Regions from separate parts of the Homo sapiens genome. Here all the other regions are linked to region 1. The links are contacts of gene promoters, found by promoter capture Hi-C in blood cells and fetal thymus (Javierre and others, 2016). All regions are on one chromosome and are shown on one strand. The core of a region is centred on a gene start or on the middle of the fragment in contact, and the rest is flanking DNA. Distances in the headings are between cores, read along the strand shown.

Region 1 (4,417 bases), core at 975-3,474:
AAAGCCCAAGGATTCCACTGCCCACAATCGCATTGCTCAGATTAAATACTGACATTCCAAAGGAAGTAGTACCTGGATGCTACATAGAGGGAAAACGATAACCAAACATATAACAATAATTAAATGGAGAAAACCAGCTTTGGGCAAGTTAGATTTGAATTCTAAAAGTAAAACTATTCTTTTACTCCATAAAGCCACTGACAGACAAATTACTATTTTTAACTTACAAATTCTGTTTCATACTTCTTCTTCCCCAAATTCGATTCAAGTAAAAAGTTCTGGTTTTCAGGATCTACATCTGCATAATGGCTGCAAAAAATATAGACATATATAATTGTAAACTGGATTGAAATATCTATCATTACACACAAGACTGCTTTAACATAAAATACCCTCCAACAGCATAGCTCTGATACAACATCTTTACTTAATGTATAAATATTAACTAGGAGTTGACTTTCACACCAGCTATCTTGTCATTACAACAAGATAATCGGATACTCTTTCAGAGATTACGCACCTTCTCTAAATGCTATAGCAAATTAAAGCAATGGAAGCAGAGTCCTAGGTAACTCCCTGAACCCAACCCATGCAAGCCGTTTTTTCAAAAGTGTCACAACTTCTCCCACCTTTTCAGAGCAGCTTGCTTGGTGGGGTAGGAGTAGTTGAAGTCGCTGTTGGAACTGTAGCTGCTGCTGTCTTCATCCGGGGAAATACTGAATCGTCCCATTTCGGCCTTCTTCATGCTAAGCACTGGGAGGAATCGGGTGCAGCTAGTAGCGCTGGGCTCCTTTTGTCCTTGGCGGTGGGTGCAGCGGCCCGCGAGTCGGCCTGCGAAAGTAGAGGCGGCGCGTCAGGACCGCAGCGCCAGCCCGCCGCGGTCACGTGACGCCGCCCGGAGGCGCAGCGCGGCTGATTCATCCCAGGCCAGGCGAGTGGAAAAGTACCAGCCGCGCGCGAGGGGCGGGGGCGCGCCGAGGGGCGGAAAAGTACAGACGGCGGAGCCGCGGGGAGAACAAAGATGATGCCACCGCTGTGTTGCGGCCGTCGAGGCCCCCTACTCCGGCAGATTTCAGTATTTCACCCTCTCTATTGTCCCTCGTCGGAGTGGAGGGGGCGAGGGGGGGTTCTGTTTTGCTTTTTCCCAGTCGCTCCAAACTTGCACAGGCACTCAGGGCACACATCCAGCCCCGACCCTGGCTCGTGTGCATGCAACCTAGGCGCACGGCTTTCCGTTTCTAGCATTTGGAACAGCAATGCTGCGTAATCTGTCCTTTACTGCCCGGAGTCCCCACACGGAGAAATGCCTCTGCCGCAGACAGCCTTCCCCAGGAGGCGGAAAGGGCCGACACTACTCCTCTCTCGAGGGGGGCGAACGCCCGGGCCCCGGGAGCTGGGGGTTTGTTTACACACGCGCGCCAGTGCCCTCAAGCACACCCGTCCACAGGCAGCTGGCCCGCGAGTGCTACGCCCGCCCAGCCCCTCCTATGTCCGGAAAGAAAACTGATGCAATATCGATCGTCGATTGTCAAATGTTCCCAACTCGTCTTCCCCAATCTTGGCCTCTCCTGTAATACATGCCCAAGCCCACCTCCGCCGCCCCCAGATTCCTGGCTCCCTGGACTTAATTTTTTTTTTTTATTAAATGCAAATCAGTCACAAGACTTGCCGCAGCAGAGCCGCTGGCCGGGCTAGCTCCCCTCCCCCTAATGGGAAGATGCGGCTCCGCACCGTGCAGGCACGCGGCCCCCGCCCAGCGCCCGCTCTCCTACCCACGTCGCGGGCGCGACACCCGCGCGGCGGGCCAGGGTGGAAGGCTGGCCAGCCCAACCGACAACGCCCGCCTCGAAAGGAAACGGACCCCGCGGCCGCCTTCCCGCGCGGCCCCTCCCGGAAGCCCCTCCCCCACTCTCGCCCGGGCCCCGCGCCCTTCCCACAGACGCCCCCCCGCACGCGTTACCTCGGTGGTCTCTATTCTCACGCAGACGTCTTCAGTGGGTTTCTCTCAGTCAAATACAAATCATAAAAAACAAACAAAAAATTTCCCCAAATCCAACAACAGGCAGGAAAAATAATTTTAATAAAAAAGGAAAAGACAAATTGCCGCCCCAATCCTCCGGCGTCCGCCGTGTCAAGGGAAAGGCGCGAGCGTGCGGTAACGCGTGGTCGGGCTGCTGCTAGCAGTACTGGAAAGGCGTTCTAAGGCGGCGGCGTCGCGCGGCTGTGGAGCAGCCCTGCGAGCGGCGGGTTATAGCGGCACCCCGGGGACGCGTCAGTGGGCGGGACCGCGGCCGCCCGGGCGCCTTCTCTTTGTGTATCAACACCACCTGGGCCCCGCCTCCGACCCGCCCAGACCTAGGCCCCGCCTCCCTGCCCCTCCCTCTGCGGCCCGCGCCCGCGGCCCAGCCCCGCCCGCAGGCGCCCCCAAGACTCTCCCGCAAAGCCCAAGCCCACTCTCTCCAGCTTTCTAGATAGTCTGGAAAGACCCCCAGATGCTTCCCCTGCCTATCCTTTTCAGCCAGGGTTGGTGCTCAACACATGCGGTTGTCTTTGAGGAGCCATCTCCTTAAAATTTTCTCCTGTCCGAGTCACCAGCAGTCCTTGCTTTCGGGGGACACATCAAGGCTTTTGGGGGACACCACCCTCCCACCAAACACTTTCTTGATTGTTATTTTTGTGATTTACAGTGAAGTTTTGTCTCACAAACTTGGGCCAAGGCAGCAAGGTTGTCCTGATGGTTTGTTGTTCTTTCTTTTCCACCTAGACCTGCTTTCACTCTTCAAAACTAGCCGGAGGTCGGCGAGCAGCTCCTTTTCGGGATGTGCTTTTTGTACGGCCATGGAAACTGGACTAGCGGAAAGGCTACCTTTTGGCCAGCAAGCCAGGCCCCTTAGAAAGAGGCCCCAGTGGGGAGCCCGGCGCTCCTAAGGCCGTTTGGGAGTCCCCAGTTTTCCACTCGCTGACACGTTGCTTCTCTTATCCCACCACCGCCGCCCCGGGCAAAGGCACTGCCTTGTCTGAATGCGGGTCTGAGGCGCTTTCTGCGGAGCCTGGTCCTTTCCCTTCAATGGTGATGTGTGTGGTCTTGCTGAGCCAGGCAACTAGGGGGACCCTTCGCTGTGGAAAAATTGGTGCTGCGGGAAAGGCAAGACTCACTCCCTTGCAGGAAACAAAGACCCCTTAGGAGAGAGAAATGTTCATGGAATGAATGAATAAACAAGTTTGACCTACTGCTCTCTTCCTTTTGGGGACTTGGGAGAAATTGGGCAGGGCATAGAGGAAAGGGCTGGGTGTGATCGCAGTTTTTGCTTTCAATGTTTTACTGAGGAAATCCGTACAACTGCCTATTTCCGCCGCACGTGAGGCTTCGGGTGCCCTCGCCTGCACCAGTGTTTATGATTGACAAGCGAGGTCCCGATTTCCCCCATCACACTCCTGTGTTCCCTACCCCAAACCTTCTACTCTGTTCAGGCCAGTCTTCCCTACCGCAAACCTTCTACTCTGTTCAGGCCAGTCTTAAATAATAGCCATTCTTGCTTTGGTGTCCAATCTCCTCTCATCCCCTTAAATGCCGCTGTCATGCAAGGCTTAGTCTTCGAGCCACAGGAAAGCGCCCCGCATGCCTTAATCCCTCCGTACTCAGCCCTCTTTTTGCAGGTACTATTTTCTAAAACAATATGGTGACGGACTTTTAAAAATCCGTGCTGTCATGCACTCAAAATCGTTCCAGACTATTTGTAGTATCATCTGCCCAAAGATTGTGAACTCCCCAAGGGCAGGTTTGGAATTTGACACACAATTAGGGCTGAAAAAACTATCTTCCTTCCACATACATTCCCCAATAAAATCAATCAACTCTTCTTGTCACAACAATCTTGGTAGTGGTAGGTTAGAGAGGAGTCCCAGGAAGTTTCTTTATATTAGGTTTCAACTGATAACAATCAAAAGGTCTTAAACCACTTTTTCATTCCAGATGAATCTCTGGTCGTTTCCTCTGCCCAGTTAGAGGTGCTAAGGAGGCCCTCAGGGTTGGTAGTTATGGGTGGCAAGTGGCACTATAAGTAAATCTCATGTCTTTTGGACTTTTTGGTGGTTTGTATTGCAACACATATTTAGGAGAAGCACAATACCTGTACAGCTGAGGGCAAAGTGGAGGGCAGGGGCGGGGGGGGGAGCTGCAATATTGATCTGGTCTCTGTATGATCAGAACTTGAACAGTAAATGACAAAAAAAGAAGGGTGGAGGGGTGAAACTTCCATGTTTTTATTGCCAGTTTGATTGGTCTTTTCGAGGGCCAAACTGAGGCATGCCTGCTAACTCCATCAGACTTCCAACTGAGGCCTGATGTGCTCTGAGCAATTGCTGTTATGCTTTGGGCTTGAATGCATTGGACACAGTGTCCTCATTCAATTTCTGG
Region 2 (4,417 bases), core at 1,158-3,657, 650 kb after region 1:
TATTTTCCATTCTTTGTTGAGGTAGAAGAGGCTTTAAGTGACATATGGAAAGTCCAGTGAGATTCCTTCTTTGATACAATGCAGGGATGACACAGTTGTATAAAGCCAATGGCCAAATGTTGAGTCATCTGATGATGTGTAGAGGATCGTTTGTAAGTTCTTACTTAGCCAATATAATTAAGAAATGAAGCTATTACAAGAACAATTAAATATATTTGTTAGCTCGCTGTATCATGATGCACAAACCATATGTGCATTAACCATATACCAAGAACCAGAATACAATAAAATGCATTTGACCCTAAATTTAAATTAGATTTAATTTTACTCTTGTTATTCAGATGGTACTTTAGGATCTTATAGGTCTAGGCTTTGAATACTAATTCTCATTGTGTAGTATACAAAAATGTATGTTTGAGCTTTCTGGTTGCTTGGATTTAAAACTAAAAGTGGTTTTGTATTTATAAAGGATCAAACCTATCATGCATAGTGTGAGTGGCAGCATATCCACCATTTTAGTTGATTCTTTGTAGTATTATAACCATAATCGCATGATCTTATATATTGCTTTATTCCAATATTAAAGATTGAGAGATAATGATAATGATTTTATCTTTTAGTTATAGAATTGCCTTCAAATGCCTTGTTTTATAATCATCTCAAAGTCAAACAAGAGATTCCTTTAATCGTTACATCATTTTTCATAGGCAAGTAATGAGGGACTGAATGGTTTTGCTGTTGAAGACAGAAGGACAAAAAAGTAAAATCATATTCTCCAAACATATACAGATAGTATTGAAAAGAAGTGTAAGAATTAGTTATTGTTTGTTTGCCCTTGGAAATAACAGTTATTATTCTGTTATTATTTTTAAACATCTATTTTATTTATTATTATTAAAGGAGCAGTTATCACTAATGCAATCATTTCAGAAAAATTTTCTTTAAAGCAAACACAGGAAAACAGAAACAAAAACCACCTCCATTTAATTGAGTTCTTAGTATGTGCCACGTGATTTAAATACTTTACATACTTTTCTTACTTAGTCCTCACACAACCTGATAAAGTTTCATTTTATAAAGGAAGAAACCAGGCTGAGTCATTGAATAACTTATTTTAAGCCACATTGACAGTAAAGGGCAGCTTCTGGATAAAACCTAAGTGTGTCCAATTTTGAAGCCGTGCTTATAAATGTGACAAAAAATACTTTATAACCATGTCAGGAAAACATGCATTGTACCTACTACTCTACAAAGTCTAGCCAAGAGCAGAACTGACATGCATTGTCTTATTTGCCATAGGTAAATCAACAGGAAAGCGAAGTATAAACAGTTAACTCAGACTAGTATATTACCCAGGGTTTTATACTGGTTGATCTGCCATTATTCCAGAGGCAAGACTACAAATCACTTGGATAACATGATCCTGCAATGTCAAGGTAGGTAAATAACTTGTGAGAGTTTTTAAATGATGCCATCACCACTGCAGAAGAGTATATTTACTCCTTCTGCTTTCCTTAAAATGGCTAGCATTAGGCTCTTTATTCAGAAATTTTTATATTATAACATACCTTATCTTATATCATTATCTTCTCCCAACAATCTATTAGGCCAACGTGCTAGATCAGTGATGTTACTTTAAGGCCCTCTCAATCTTTTTTAAAAGTTGTAAACAGACCACTGTGCCACGTAAAGATTAAAGTGTAAAGACTGAGACTTCAAGAATAAATTTTAATGCTGTGATCATATAATATATAAATTTTGCCAAACTACTTTTTGAGCTGCATGCTAATTAAATACAATGCTTAACAACCACTGATACACACACACACACACACACACACACACACACACACACACATAGAACTACTTTTACATAGCTAAACCAAGAAATGGGAAAGCTTGTTACTTTGTTTCTAGATTCCTGGATTCATAATTCAAGGGCATTGTGATAGATCTCCTTTGTTGTTCTTCCTATATCCACCCCTCCCTCCCCAAGCCAATGGAACCTTAAGTTCGTTCAGGTGGCTGCTGAGATCTTTCCCTCTGTCGAGTATTTATGGATGGGTTTAAACCAATCGTGATTCATCCCAGGGCCAGGGATAAATTATGATTGGTCTAAACCAGCCTTAGTAATCTTAGTAATCTTGTAACTTTGTCTGGGAATGAAGTGACAAATTTTGGTCAATGAGATGAAAGCAGAAGTTTTTGAATGAGCCTCCAGGGCTTGTCTTTCTGATTAACACAGATAACATAGAAAAGAACTTTTGTCTTTCTGATTAACATTGATAAACTTACAGAAGACAGCCTTTGCCTTTCTCTTCTCTTCTGCCTGCAATGAAGACATAGTCCCTGGAGGCACAGCAGACATTTGTGACCATAAGATGACAAGCCTGAGGACAAAAGTCAACTTTTATTTTTTGAGACGGAGTCTCATCCTGTGGCCCAGGCTGGAATACAGTGGCATGATCTCGGCTCACTGCAACCACATCCCCGGTTCAAGGGATTCTCATGTCTTAGCTTCCCTAGTAGCTGGGACTACAGGCATGCACCACCATGCCCAGCTAATTTTTGTAATTTTAATAGAGACGGGGTATCACCATGTTGGCCAGGCTGATCTCGAACTCCTGACCTCAGGCGATCTGCCCACCTGCACTTCCCAAAGTGCCAGGATTACAGGCGTGAGCCATCTCACCTGGACAAAAGTCAATTTTCTAAGGATGATGCAACAGGATGATAGGTCTCTGACAGCATCGCTGAGTTCATTGAATAGCTGTATCAGGACGTTTCTTACCTTTGGATTCCTTGCAATGTGACAAAAAGTTTTATTTATATAAGCTATTGTTTGTAGGGGTTTCTGTTACTTGCAGCCTCATGTATTAGGTTGAACCATATGATATGTTGTAAACAAAAATAGTTGAAGCTTAGCAGATTTCTATGATTCAACCAATTTTATGAATTGATGCTGAATTCAAGACCCTTTCACTTCTCCAGCAATCAAAACCTCTCCTTTTCCTCTCTCCTGCCACCTGATACCACACAAAATAGATCTTTATATATATATATTTCTGACATTTAATCAATGATGTGCTGGTAAACTAGTTTGTTAGGAGGAAAAGCCCTGATTTGTACTGTATTTATGGTATAACTACTCCCACTATGTCTCATTTTAAGCTTCCAGCTTGAGGTCACTGAAAAAGGAGTTGGAAAGAAATGCTCGCAATCAGCTCTTCTGAGCTGCTACTACAGCCAGCTCCAGCATGCCACTGCCCACGCATTGGCCAAAGCTCTGTTACAGTGTATGATGGTCAGAGCTAATGTTAGAAAGTAATTTATTATCCTTACTATTATTCTCTTTGTAGCATTGAGACAAAGATACAAGAAAAATATAATATATCCAATAATTATATGATATATATGCTAAGTACATATTATGTACACATAAAATAATTATAAAATACAATAATTATATCATATAATTAGGATATGGGGAAATTGACAAGATAAATGTAGATCTTTGCCCTCTGATTCATTTAGATCTAGTAAAAAAAACTAAAGAAAATGTGTCAGAGTAGCCACCAAGGAGACATAAAATAGTATGAATTTTTACCAACAAAATAACTTATAATTTTGATATAATTATAATTCTACATTATGGCTTTATTATAATTTATAAGAATATATAATTTTACCAACAAATTAATTAATATGAATTTTTACCAACTAGCTCTTCTATTGCCTAACTTTTATCAGTTATCTCTAATGGGTAAGAAAGAAAACCAAGATATCCTTCACTGGTTATTCATTTTTTGAAAAAGCTGTATTCTGTTGCAGTTAAAGAAGATGAAGCATTTGACTTCCATTTGGGACAGTGACCTTTATAAAATACCGCCCTCCCTCCCCCAAACCCTCAGCCCCCAAACTCATTTTCTCTAGCTGTTGAATGCCAAAAATCCATTTAGTTTTCAAACATTGCCTTTTTTCTATTAGTTTTAGGTAGCTGGTCCAAGAAATGATTGAGATTCTTCCCAGTTTAAACTTAAGATGCTTGAATGTACTGCCAGTACCAAATGAAGGTCTCTGCATTCTTCATCACCCTGTGCCCAGTCTCCGTCTTTTATCATCTTCTTTTAACAATCTTAGTAATCCCAAATAAAGTGAAATGGAACATATTAATAGTTACTCTTGGGGAATTTTTTTTGGACTGGAGTTGATATATAACTGTGGCTGGATTATCAACATGGACTATCCTGTCTGGAGAGACAACTCAATATTAATAATGCAGATTCGAGCATTCAATGATCCTATACTTTGTCAAGCCAGAAAACTGTGAACCAACCTAGATCTGTCCTCTCACTCAACCTCCAAGTCTAATCAGTCAATAGAAAAAATAACAAATATATACTGAGCACTTACTGTA
Region 3 (4,417 bases), core at 884-3,383, 610 kb after region 1:
GGAGCTTGCAGTGAGCCGAGATCGTGCCACTGCACTCCAGCCTGGGCGACAGAGACTCTGTCTCAAAAAAAAAAAAAAAAGAAAAGAAAAGAAATTTCAACCAAAAATAAATTTCATATCCTGCCAAATCAAGCTTCATAAGTGAACAAGAAATAAAATATTTTCCAAAGAAGCAAGAGCTAAGGAAATTTATTGACACTAGATCACCTTTACAAGAGATCCTTAAAAGAGTTCTAAACATGGAAACAAAAGAGCAATATCTGCTACCACAGAAGCACACTTAAGTATATAGCCTACAAACCCTTAAAAAACCCATGCAATAAAAACTACCAAGGAACCAGCTAACAACTTCATGATAGGATCAAAACTGCACATCTCAATATTAACCTTGACTGTAAATGGTCTAAATGCCCTCACTTAAAAGGCACAGAGTGGCAATTTGAAAAAAAAAATACATCTACTGTCTTCAAGAGATCCATCTCACATTTAATAACATTCATAGGCTCAAAGTAAAGTGTTGGAGAAAGAGCTACTGTGCAAATAGAACACAAAAAACAGTAAGACCAATCCTAGATAAAACAGACTTTAAATCAACAACAGTAAAAAAGAACAAAGAAGGGCATTACATAATGATAAGGGCTTCAATTCAACAAGATGGCTCATGTATCCTAAACACATATACACCCAACACTGGAGCACTCAAATTCATAAAACAAGTACTTTTAGATCTATGAAAAGACAGACAGCCATAAAACAATAGTAGAGGACTTCAACACACCATTGCCAGCATTAGACAGATCATTAAGGCAGAAAACTAACAGAAATTCTGCAGTTCAATTGACCAACTGGACCTAAGAGACACTGACAGAATATTTCACCCATCAACCACAGAATATCCACTCTTTTTGTCTGCACACAGAACATACTGCAGGATCATCCACATCCTCAGTCATAAAGCAAGTGTCAATAAATTTTTTTAAAATTGAAATCATACCCATCATATTCATGAACCACAGTGGAATGAAAATCGAAATCAATACCATGAAGCTCCCTTGAAGCCATACAATTACATGGAAATTAAACAACTTGCTCCTGAAAAAATTTTAGGTAAACAAAAAAATTAAGGCAGAAATAAAAAACATTCTTTGAAATGAATTAAAACAGAGACAAAACATACCATAATCTCTGGGATACACCAAAAGCAGTGTTAAGAGGAAAGTTTATAGCACTAAATGCCTACCTCAAAAAGTTAGAACAATCTGAAATTAACAGTCTAACATCTCACTTAGAGGAACTAGAAAAACAAGAACAAACTAACTCCAAAGCAAGTAGAAGAAAATAAATAACTAAAAATAGATCAGAACTGCATAAAACTGAGACACAAAAGCCCCCAAAAAATCAACAAAACCAAAAGATGTTTCTTTGAAAGAATAAACAAAATCAACCTAAAGCTATTTAGATTAACAAAGAAAACAAAAGGTGATCCAAGCACAATTAGAAATGACAAAGGTGACATTACAACTGATCGCACAGAAATAAAAAGATTTCCAGAGACTATTATGAACACATCTTTGCACACATTTTACTGTAGAAAATTTATGTTTCTATAGTATTGGAAATTCTGGCCAGGGAAATCAGGCAAGATAAACATATAAAGGGTATTCAAATAGGAAGAGAGGAAGTGAAATTGTCACTGTTTGCAGATGACATGATTGTATATTTAGAAAACGCCATTGTCTCAGCCCAAAAACTCCTTAAGCTGATGAGCAACATCAGCAAAGTCTCAGGATACAAAATCAATGTGCAAAAATCACAAGCACTTCTATACACGAATAATAAACAGAGAGCCAAATCATGAGTGAACTCCCATTCACAATTGATACAAAGAGAATAAAATACCTATGGGACAGAACAGAGGCCTCAGAAATAACGCCACACATCTACAACCATCTGATCTTTGACAAACCTGACAAAAACAAGCAATGCGGAAAGGATTCCCCATTTAATAAATGGAGCTAGGAAAGCTGGCTACCATATGCAGAAAACTGAAACTGGACCCCTTCCTTACACCTTATACAAAAATTAGCTCAAGATAGATGAAAGACTTAAACATAAGACCAAAAACCATAACCCTAGAAGAAAACCCAGACAATAACATTCAGGACATAGGCATGAGCAAAGACTTCATGAAAAAATGCCAAAAGCAATTGCAACAAAAGCCACAATTGACAAAAGGGATCTAATTAAACTAAAGAGCTTCTGCACAGCAAAAGAAACTATCATTAGAGTGAACAGGCAACCTACAGAATGGGAGAAAATTTTTGCAATCTATCCATCTGGCAAAAGTTTAACATCCAGATTCTACAAGGAACTTAAACAAATTTACAAGAAAAAAACAAACGACCCCATCAAAAAGTGGGCAAAGGATATGAACAGACATTTCTCAAAAAAAGACATTTATGCGTCCAACAAACAAATGAAAAAAGTTCATCATCACTGGTCATTAGAGAAATGCAAATCAAAACCACAATGAGATACCATCTTATGCCAGTTAGAAAGGCAATCATTAAAAAGTCAGGAATCAAAAGATGCTAGTGAGGCTGTGGAGAAATAGGAAGGATTTTACACTGCTGGTGGGAGTGTGAATCAGTTCAACCATTGTGGAAGACAGTGTGGCAATTCCCTAAGGATCTAGAACCAGAAATACCATTTGACCCAGCAATCCCATTATTGTTTATATACCCAAAGGATTACAAATCATTCTACTATAAAGACACATGCACACATACGTTTATTGTAGCACTATTCACAATAGCAAAGACTTGGAACCAACCCAAATGCCCATCAATGATAGACAGGAAAAAGAAAATGTGGCACATACACACCATGGAATACTATGCAGCCATAAAAAAGGAAGAGTTCATGTCCTTTGCAGGGACATGGATGAAGCTGGAAACCATCATTCTCAGCAAACTAACACAGAAACAGAAAACCAAACACCACATGTTCTCACTCAAAAGTGGGAGTTGAACAATGAGAACACATGGACAGAGGGAGGGGAACATCACACACCAGGGCCTGTCATGGGGTAGGGGGGACAAGGGAAGGGATAACATTAGGACAAATACCTAATGCATGTATGGCTTAAAACCTAGATGACGGGTTAATGGGTGCAGCAAACCACCATGACACATGTATACCTATGGAACAAACCTGTGCATTCTGCACATGTATCCCAGAACTTAAAGTATAATAAAAATAAATAAATAATCCATTTTATAACTTCTAGAAATAAATCATAACTCATATAGCATGTGAGAATACAGTATCAAAATATCACATGTATCCCATAAATATGTACAATTATTATGTATCAGTAAAAAAGAACCCCTTCTAGTTTAGAAGATATCCCTGTGTCTTATCATTTAGGGTCGCATATACTTTCTTTTTTATAACATTCATTCATCTTAATTTTTTGGTTGTTATATATTTCTTAAAGAGTGTTCCATTAGCCCAGAAACTATTGTTTATTCACTATTGTATTTTTCATGCCAAATAAGTCAAAATAAAGATTCAATAAGCATGAAAAAAAAGAAAATTTATGTTTCTAGGATAAATTCCTAGAAACACATAATCTCCCAAGATTGATTTAGAAAGAAATTGAAACCCTGAACAAACCAATATTAAGTCCTAAACTTGAATCAGTTATTTTAAAAAAAAAAAAACCTACCAACCAATAAAAACCTCCAGACCAGATGGATTCACAGCTGAATTTTACCAGACATACAAAAAAGAACTGGTACCAATACTACTATAACTGTTCAAATAAATCAAGGAGAAGGGACTCCTCCCTAACTCACTCAATGAAGCCAGCATCACCCTGATACCAAAACCTGGTAAAGAAACAATGAGAAAAGAAAACTACAAGCCAATATTCCTGATAAACATAAACACAAAAATCCTCAACAAAATACTAGCAAACCAAATTCAACAGCACATCAAAAAGTTAATCACAATGATCAAGTAGGCTTCATTCCTGCGAGGCTAGGTTGGTTTGATATGAGCAAATCAATGTGATTCCCCACATAACCAGAATTTTTTGAAAAAGGTATAATCATCCAATAGACATGGGAAAAGCTTTTGATACAATCCAACATCCCTTCATATTCAAAAACCCTCAAGACTAGGCATTGAAGGAACATGCCCCAAAATAATAAGAGCCATCTATGACAAACCCACAGCCTACATACTGAGTGGGCAAAAGCTGGAAGCATTCCCTTGAGAATTGGAACAAGGCAAGGATGTCTACTCTTACCACTCCTGTTTAACATAGTAGTAGAAGGCCTTGCCAGAGCAATCAGGAAAGATAAAAAAACAAAAAAGGGCATTCAAATAGGAAAATACATCAACGTATCTC
Region 4 (4,417 bases), core at 876-3,375, 590 kb after region 1:
AAAGATTTTATTTTCTCTTGAGTTTCTGTCTAGCCAGCAGGTTTTAATTCCTGTGTAATAGTGGTTCGTTATCCTTCATCTGTTGAATAACCATTTTCTTGAAAGGCCAGAATATTGTAACTCCAAGAAATAAAAAGAGGTCAATTTTGTTGAATACTGTTTATTTAGATTTTTTGCATATTTTGCACATTTTCTCGAGTATGGGTAAGTAATCAAGTAATCCTACATACTGGTGGCTGCCTTGTGGATATCTCTTATTAGCATCGTGCCAAAAAGTGTGGAAGGCAAAAGGACAAAACTTAAAGCAAGACTTGAAAAAGTGGCCAGGGTATAAGTGGTGTATTCATTACCAAGCGTGGCCAAAATATGTTTGCCTATTTATACCAAAGTCTCTTCAGATTTACCAATTAGCTTCAATAATTTATTGATTGAGGGGTGATGTTAATGCTTTTTAAAAAGCACTTCTTAATATTTGTAGCCATTAAATACTTGTAGTCAATACCTGTAGAGTATGTCTGCAAGGAGACTTATTTCATCTGGGTAGGAAGAAGTAGGAGTGGGGAGAACTTGCCTCAATTTCTTTACTTGCTTCAATTTCTTTACTATCAGGAACAGATGACTAGTTTAGCAAGAACATCACTGGCTCAAGGCACCCCTTCTCCTAAGCAGCGCATGTCTCACAGAATATTTCAAGGTTCACAGAGCAGTTTCACCTACCTTAGCAGCAATCTGTGATGTTTCACAGAGGAGGAAAGGAAAGCACCCAGATCTGAAGTGCCTCTCCCAGGAGATCATGGAGCCAGCCAGAGGCTGACACTGCATTGAAGTCCAAGTCTCCTTCAGAACCTAAGCCCTCTCCACCGTACTTCTTGGCTGATCCCAAGCAGATAGCTCTCATTTCTCAACAAACGTAAATAAGGCAACGTGCAATCTTAGAATACAAATGAAGTATTTCTCCTAAGGCATCTATTATAGGCAACTTATTGAATAAACCTCTTAAGATCAAAAAAAGATTCTTAAAACTGCTAGTCGTTATTCACAAACACACAACAAAGCCTTCCAGATTTATAAATTTACATGGAGAAATAAAAGTCATCCCAGAATAACTTTAAAATTGTTCAAAATAATGTATATACATCTATATTTGAAAACATCCTCAAGGCTGTTTTTTGAAAAAGGACATAAATATATGTCAAATAAAATAAAATTTGAAAAGACAAGAGATTCTGTGAGGAAAAAGGTCGTTAGATCCTTTGGAATTAACTGGAAAAATGATGGCAGTTATATGGGGAATCGGAAGGACAAAATGATATCGAATTTCTCTTTATGGATCACAGGCTTTTACTAGTGTAGTGTTATAAATAATTGAAAATATTTTTGTCTTCTTCAGAGAAGAAAGCAAAGTAGTATCAGGTCCTTACCTAGAGGGGACACACACACATATACACGCACACACACAACACACTCCTACTCATAGATCCCACTGGGAATTTGGGAAACAGAACACCCCATTAGGTAATTCTCTTTAAAAGTCAATTCAGGGCTGGGCGCAGTGGCTCACGCCTGTAATCCAAGCACTTTGGGAGGCCGAGGCAGGCAGATTATGAGGTCAGGAGATCGAGACCATCCTGGCTAACATGGTGAAACACCGTCTCTACAAAAAATACAAAAAAAAAAAAAAAATTACCTGGGCGTGGTGGCAGGCGCCTGTAGTCCCAGCTACTTGGGAGGCTGAGGCAGGAGAATGACGTGAACCCGGGAGGCGGAGCTTGCAGTGAGCCGAGATTGCACCACTGCCCTCCAGCCTGGGTGACAGAGCAAGACTCCGTCTCAGAAAAAAAAAAAAAAAAAAAAAAAAAGCCAATTGAATGGGTGGGTGTATCTTAAAGCCTTTTCCCTCTAAAGATCCCTGTGATAGTGTTTGAAATCCCTCTAAAGAGCCCTGTGACAGCATTTTAAAAAAACCCTGCTACCTACAAAGTAGATGTTTGTTACATATTTCTTGGATAAATGATTGATACAGGATTGATTCAAGACAGGACATAAAAGATCCTGGAAGGCCAGGTGGATGACTATCACAACAGTCCAGCAAGAGGTAATGATGACTTATGTGGGGGCAGTGGAAAGAAGAGGGCAGAACCAGGACCACTGCACAGGTAGAATTGACCTCGTTATTGAATATTCAGCAGCTTCTCACAATCTAGAGAACTATTGAAGGCTCTCCATTCACTTCCTTTATCTACTTCTTGGCCCACACTCATTCTCCATGCAAACATTAGTTCTCTCCTAATCATCCAGGAAGTAAAACCTGAAATACCTAAATAATTAAAATCAATTATACTCCGATAACATTGGAAGCAGCTGCTATACTCTTCATAATATATTTTACAGATTAAACATTCATTTCACATAGTCAGGTTTGTATAGATGAGTTAATATTTTATAAAGACATTTGTCTTCAGGAAACAAAAAGAAATATCAGACTATCACCTACATGAATTCTGAAGGTACATGAATTTGCCCATTACATTTTGCTACTTTGAGACATTAGAAGACCTCTCAAGAAGTCCGAACCTTTCTGTTGAGACTTGTTCTTAGATGAGACAAATCTGATCTCTCAAAAAGATGAGGTTCTCCTAAAAACAGTGTGTCAGTTCTCTGTGAACTTGGGAAAAATTGTGAAACAGAGACCTTGATTCCCTATTCAGACCTCCCATATACAGAATTCATGAGTGTCAGCTAGGATCTGTCCCCAGATATTGCATGGGCTTCATCTCTTGATACTATGGACAACTTTTGGTAGAGGAGGTAGAGGATAAAAGAAAATAAGAGATCACCTGCAATCTTAGTGCAGACTGTAAGGAGTTCAGAGAAAGTGCCAGCCTTCAGGAAATGTCAGGACAAGTGTTAGCTCAATTCAGTAACCAAATTCAGTTCAATTCAATTCAACTCAGCTTGGATGTTTATCAATAAGTCTTAACAATAATTCTTACATTAAATTATTGTCATGAAATTTATGAAACTTCTGCTGTGTGCATTTGATTTGTTTTATTCAGCATTTCTTTTTTCATGCAGTCCTAAGTTGTAAGGTGGCTTTCTTCCATTCTCATAAGAGTTAGCACAAAGAACTCTCATCCTTGTTCCCTGTTATCTCTTATGCATGCTTACTAGCAGCTGGTGGGAGCTGCTAAGAAAAAATGCCATTCTAGAGATATAATTTGGAATCAAGCAGAAGTATCTGCTGCAGAACTAATCACATGTTTGGAGTAAAGGATTGAAGTGTGAAGAAAGCGAAAGACAGTCAAGGCTACATATGGATATTTTTAAAGTAAGGCTCATGTGCAGCAGCTGAAGAAGTATGTCAGTGTTCCTTGCACTCATGTGATGTGACACTTATATGGCTCACTTCAAAGTCAAAAATGACATTGTCAATACTCTGCTTTTTTTTTTTTTAGGAAGGGTCTCACCCTGTCACCCATGCTGAAGTGCAGTGGCATGATCATAGCTCACTGTGGCCTTGAACTCCTGGGCTCAAGCAATCCTCCTACCTCAACCTCCTGAGTAGCTAGGATTAGAGGTGCACACCACTGTGCCTGGCTAATGTTTTTGTTTTGTTTTGTTTTTTTGTAGAGGGATCTCACTTTGTTGCCCAGGCTGGTCTCAAACTCCTTGCTTCAAGCGATCCTCCCACCTCAGCCTCCCACAGTGCTGAGATTGCAGACATGAGCCACTATGCCTAGCCTATTCTGCTTTTATTTTGAGAATTTCAACTTTTTCCTCTCCCATATGTCTATATAAATGATCCATCACCATGGGGAGGGGAGGGAGGTGGAGGTGGAAATGAAGTCTCCACATGTGGAAAGCAAATATCTGGAATATGCCGGAGTGTAGTACCTGCATAGGTCATACTGGGTCAAAGATTACAAACAATTCCACTTAAGGGCACGAAGAGGAATTGGTGCCTTTGAGGTCAGCGTGCATTCCAAGTTCTAGAAATAGAGTTTCAACAAGTTCTGCCAGATGCCTTATCTTGGCAGCTTTCCTATTATTATTTCCCTTGACTGCCAAAGAGCAACTCCCCCACTGCCATGCACAGGTCAGTGACTGGTGCAATCAATGAATCAATCAAATAGGCAACAACTGGTTTTAAGAACTGGCTCCATACTGAAGGCTTCTGTGGGGATTGCATTCAGCCAAACCTCCCAAGGGCACATTGAGAAGGATTTGTACTAGAACATATTATTGTTCTCAGCTCCCAGTCATTTCTTTATGAAAATTACGTTGATTATTTTTGACAAGGGAGTGTGAATGTAGGGTATTCTGTGGGAACTCTCATCTCTGCACTCCTCAAGGCTGAGATGATTAAGATCCATATGTAACAAAGTTTTTCCACAATGTGAAGCAATGGAGTCAAGGA
Region 5 (4,417 bases), core at 1,184-3,683, 550 kb after region 1:
TAAAATTTTCTGCATTTAGGAAAGAATCTTTACATCCTCCATGACTAAAAACTTCAAACAAATCTGGGCAAATTAAATTGATTCTTACCATGGATAAGATGACTGCCTGGTTCCCCTCTCTAATGTTAATGATAATTTATAGTAGTTTCACTTCCTCAGAATTGGTGACTAGAAGAAAAACCCTTGTGTCAGAGCAGGGTCCATTGAATTTAGCATATAATAACTTCAATAGAAGATCATTACAATTAAGTATGATCAGAACAATTTTCCATAGTATAGGAATTGCCAACAGAGAGGGACAGGGATAGAAGAGAGAAAGGGTGAAATGACATTTTCAAAACAATGAACACAGGCCCCACAAGAGCAGGCATTCTTTGTGTTTTTTTTTAATGTGTTTCCCACAAGCCTACAGTAGTGCCTTGCCCATAGTAGGTGCTCAATAATTGTTGAATGAGGCAAGGCATGGTGGCTCATGCCTGTAATCCCAACACTTTGGGAGGCCGAGGCAGGTGGATCACTTGAAGCCAGGAGTCTGAGACCAGCCTGGCCAACATGGTGAAATGCTGTCTGTACTAAAAATACAAAAATTAGCCAGCCATGGTGGCACACACCTGTAATCCCAGCTACTCAGGAGGCTGAGGCACGAGAATTGCTGGGAGGCAGAGGTTGCAGTGATCTGATATCGCACCATTGCACTCCAGCCTAGGCAACAGAGTGAGACTGTCTAAACAAACAAAAAAATTGTTGAATCCAACTGTTACTTTTCATATGTTTTAACTGAAACATATTTACAGAGTAATATATCTTGTATTTTTTCATTCTCTGTGAAGTAGGAAGGAAAGATTTTATTGACTCAATTTACAGATGAGAAAATGAATAATTATGTGGCTTTCCCATGGTGACATAGCAGGTGAAAGAGCCATGACTCACTCCACTTTCCAAAGGGAAAGGAAATGTAGTGCTTTCTTTGCCTTTGCCTAGTCTTAGAGATTGCATTTTTGTTTGTTTTCTACTTTGGAGGCTAGGGTTGCAAGAGTAAACCTGTTACTAACTGGCTAGCTTGGGGTGAGTAGAACAATAAATGAATGATAAAAAATACTTTGTTAGGCCATAATGAACAGCAAAATTTCAGGTATCAAGGCTAAACAAGTATTAGTTCTGTGTACTTCACATTTTTTCCCTGAAATTTCTAGCTGTCCAAAGTCTGCTTTCTTTAAACTAGACTTCTAGACAAGGAATTGAGAAATTTTTCCTGTAAAGAGCCAGATAGTAAATATTTGGGGCTTTGTGAACCATATGGTCTCTGTTGCAACCACCCAACTCTGCTGTTGTAGCACAAAAACAGCCTGGATGATACATCAGCAAACGAATGTGGCTGTGCTCCAATAAAACTCTATTGCTGGATCCTGAAACTTAATTTTCATGTATCACAAAATTTTATTCTTCTTCTGACTTCTTTCAACCATTGTAAAACATGTAAACTATTCTTAACTCACGGATGGTGGGCTGGATTTGGTCCACGGGGCTGTCATGTGCCCACCCCTGCTAACCACCCCTTGAAGCAATATCATCCAAGCAAGCTGCTCTGAGCACAGTTCTGACAATATTATTTCTTTTTAAAAACTCTCAGTGGCTCCATGCAGGCTATGGAGTGAAGTATAAACTAGTTGACATGAACACAACCCTGTCCATGACCAAGGTCCAAGCTGCATTCTGAGCAATATCCTTCCTCACCTTCCAAGATCTAACTAACTTGGGCTCTCCCCGGAAAGGTCTGCTCTCCCCACCTCCACTCCTCGGCCTAGTCAGCTGTGTCCCCCTAAAATGCCTTCTCTACTCTCATCACTGTTTCTTCCTGCCGAAATTGTACCCTTCCTTCTACCTTCATCTCTGAGTCTTCCCTAACCACCCACCACCACCTTCCCAGCTAGACTTAACCTTTTCTTTGTAGTCTATCTTTTGCAATACATGTTAATTTTTTCTGGTATTTAATAGACTCTGCCCCTATTAATAATTGTGTATATGGTCTTCTGCCCTACAAAGTTATTAACTATTGAGGCCAGAACCTGTATGTTATATTTTGGTTGGGTTCCCTGGTAGATTTCCACACTAGGATTCAGTGGTAGGGTTCAATAAACATTTGGGGAATTTAAATGAATATCCCAGAAAGGATCAAAATGGAAGCACTTAAGTGTTTGAAAATCTATTTGCAATTTCAGAATAAGAAAATAAGTAACTTCACTATTTCATAGTGTCTTCAAGCTGTTGATAATAGGAGAGAAAGGAAATTTTTTTTTTTTACTAAATCGAGTTATTCTTCATTTTATGAAAAAAGATTAAATAAATTTACCTAAGCTTAATTAACTGTTATAATTGGCCACAAATGAAAGGCTCCAATTAGCTCTAAATTGAGTGATGGCAAAGGAATCTTCTTGTCAAGACAGACACACAGGAACTTAGTAACAGCTAGAAGCAAATTAGCTACACCTATTCATGAACCCAGACAGAGAAACAAGCTTTAGCTGAGCAGGCCAAAGAGCAAACAATTTAAACTTAAAAATGAAGACCGAGAAGACAGAAACATTAGTTAAAGCAGAAAGAGAGAAGGAGTGAACCACACAGGAAGGTGTGTGTTGTGGCAAAACTGGCCTGGTCTATCTTGGAATTCATCTTATACCTACTTATAAGGCTCCATGTGGTGTTTTTCTTATTCTTTCTGGAACCATCAAATCATCACCAACTATTTCAGAGAGTTACCTACTTCTAAAACCCCCCTCATTTTTAAAGACCAGGTTGTCTTAGTGCTGAGGACAGCAGATAGTGGCAAGAGATTTGAAAAATTTAATTGTTTGTTCTATTCTCACAGAGATACTTCACACTCAATATTTTACTTCTAACATCGGATGTGTGGGGTTCTCTCCCCACACACCAAGTAGTTCTCCAGCTGATCCCAACAGGGTGTCCTTTAATTTAATTCAACTCTAATACTGTCTACCAGGAGTTAGAGTCAGACCCCACAGTTTAAGGGCTTAGTCTCACAAGACTCCCCCCACTTCAGATGCCAATTCCAAGTAGGGTTTCCAGAATTTCTAACCAACTGGCGATAAATTGGGAGTTCCCACTGCCCCTTTTTGGGGCCCAGTCATTTGCTAGAGTGGTTCACAGGATGCAGGGAAGCAGTTTGCTTACATTTACCCATTTATTATAGAAGTATCTAACTTAGGAACACCCAGATAGAAGAGATGCAGAGGGCAAGGTATGGGAAAGCGGTAAGGAGCTTCCATGCCTTCTTGGAGTATGTCACCTTCCACGTGTTCAGTAACCCAGAAGTTCTCTGAACCCAGTCCTTTTGGGTCTTTATGGAGGTTCCACTATTAAGGAATGATTCATTAAGTTATTGGCCATTGGTGATCAACTCAACCTTCAGCTTCTCTCCTCTCCCCAGAGATCAGAAGATTGGGCTGAAAGTTCCAACCCTCCAACCATATAATTGGTTCCTCTGTCAACCAGCCTTTATCCTGAAGCTATCTGGGAGCCCCCAACTATCAGTCATTTTGTTAGTATACCAAAAAAAACACTTATAACTTCCCAAAATTCCAATGATATAATTTAGGAGTTCCAAACAAGGAAAAGGGAAGGAGGTAGGGGCAAAAACCAAAGTAAATATTTTGTTTATATTACCATAGCTAAGCTATGAAAGTTTTGTTAGGGCTTGGTCTGTCTGTCCCAATTCGCTAGGATCTTTTAACAAAGCAAGCCAAACATGTGACTGTGCCCTCTTCTACCTTTAATCTGATAAGCATGTTGCAGTGGATGGAGTTTCAGAAAAATGCAAAGAAATCTCAAGTCAACAGATGAGGAAGCTGAGGCCAGAGAGTTGAAGTAGCTTCCCCAGGTTCCGCTGGGAGTGTTGGCTCTGTGGCTCCAGCCACACTGCTCCCAAACCCACCTAGTAGACAACCATTCCCAGGGGAACAGGGTCTCTGAGCATGCAAAAGAAGGTTTGAGGGGCACAGGAGAATCTAGAGACATAAGAAATAATAATAATTGAGGCTCACTATGTGATGGAGGCATTCTAAGTGTCTTGTTAATGCTCAAATCACTCTCCCAGGGAAGCTCTGTTGCCCCACTTTATAGAAGAAGAAACTGAGGCTTAGAAACATGTAGGAACTTGCTCCAGGTTCCCCAGCCACTACTTAGCAGAGGAGAGGCTCTATCTCCCACAGATGTGCCAGAAACTTATTGAAATGTTTTAGGCATCCTATAAACACCTGTGAGACCCAGGAGTGTAAGCCACCCACCTTTTCTGCCACCACCAACCCTCCCCCCAAAATTCAAGACTGTTCTCAAAGACAGCTCAGTTAGAAGCAGGAGAAATCTCAAAAATAAAACAGTTATTAGTTAAAGTGTCCTCCAA

The links. The method cuts DNA at HindIII sites, captures the fragments that hold promoters and counts their contacts. A CHiCAGO score of 5 or more calls a contact.
Region 2: a contact is called between a fragment that was not itself captured here and the fragment with the promoter of SLC38A2 in region 1, in 2 of 17 cell types (endothelial precursors and M0 macrophages). The highest score is 8.2, in endothelial precursors.
Region 3: a fragment that was not itself captured here is called in contact with the fragment with the promoter of SLC38A2 in region 1 in 2 of 17 cell types (M0 macrophages and M2 macrophages); the score reaches 5.6 in M0 macrophages.
Region 4: a contact is called between a fragment that was not itself captured here and the fragment with the promoter of SLC38A2 in region 1, in 2 of 17 cell types (M0 macrophages and M1 macrophages). The highest score is 7.6, in M0 macrophages.
Region 5: a contact is called between a fragment that was not itself captured here and the fragment with the promoter of SLC38A2 in region 1, in 3 of 17 cell types (M0 macrophages, M1 macrophages and M2 macrophages). The highest score is 15.0, in M0 macrophages.

What each region holds. Positions count from the first base shown.
Region 1 is chr12:46,370,549-46,374,965 of GRCh38, forward strand. It overlaps SLC38A2 (solute carrier family 38 member 2), which reads right to left and starts at 2,225. Exons shown (of 16, transcript NM_018976.5): 1 at 1,961-2,225; 2 at 630-831; 3 at 228-309; 4 at 1-79. The coding sequence starts at 745. It overlaps SLC38A2-AS1 (SLC38A2 antisense RNA 1), which reads left to right and starts at 2,235. Exons shown (of 2, transcript NR_187299.1): 1 at 2,235-2,314; 2 at 2,765-3,230. RefSeq lists enhancers at 1,155-1,304, 1,385-1,714, 1,404-2,107, 1,965-2,044, 2,725-2,784 and silencers at 1,735-1,934, 2,135-2,474. The HindIII fragment of the contact is 15,961 bases long and covers 1-4,417 here.
Region 2 is chr12:47,021,433-47,025,849 of GRCh38, forward strand. No RefSeq gene overlaps it. Among named protein-coding and RNA genes, the nearest start is that of PCED1B, 56 kb to the right of the region's middle. The HindIII fragment of the contact is 1,022 bases long and covers 1,897-2,918 here.
Region 3 is chr12:46,985,409-46,989,825 of GRCh38, forward strand. No RefSeq gene overlaps it. Among named protein-coding and RNA genes, the nearest start is that of PCED1B, 92 kb to the right of the region's middle. The HindIII fragment of the contact is 4,004 bases long and covers 132-4,135 here.
Region 4 is chr12:46,960,146-46,964,562 of GRCh38, forward strand. It overlaps LOC124902925 (a long non-coding RNA gene), which reads right to left and starts at 1,729. Exons shown (of 2, transcript XR_007063287.1): 1 at 1,688-1,729. The HindIII fragment of the contact is 7,311 bases long and covers 1-4,417 here.
Region 5 is chr12:46,920,650-46,925,066 of GRCh38, forward strand. No RefSeq gene overlaps it. Among named protein-coding and RNA genes, the nearest start is that of SLC38A4, 97 kb to the left of the region's middle. The HindIII fragment of the contact is 161 bases long and covers 2,354-2,514 here.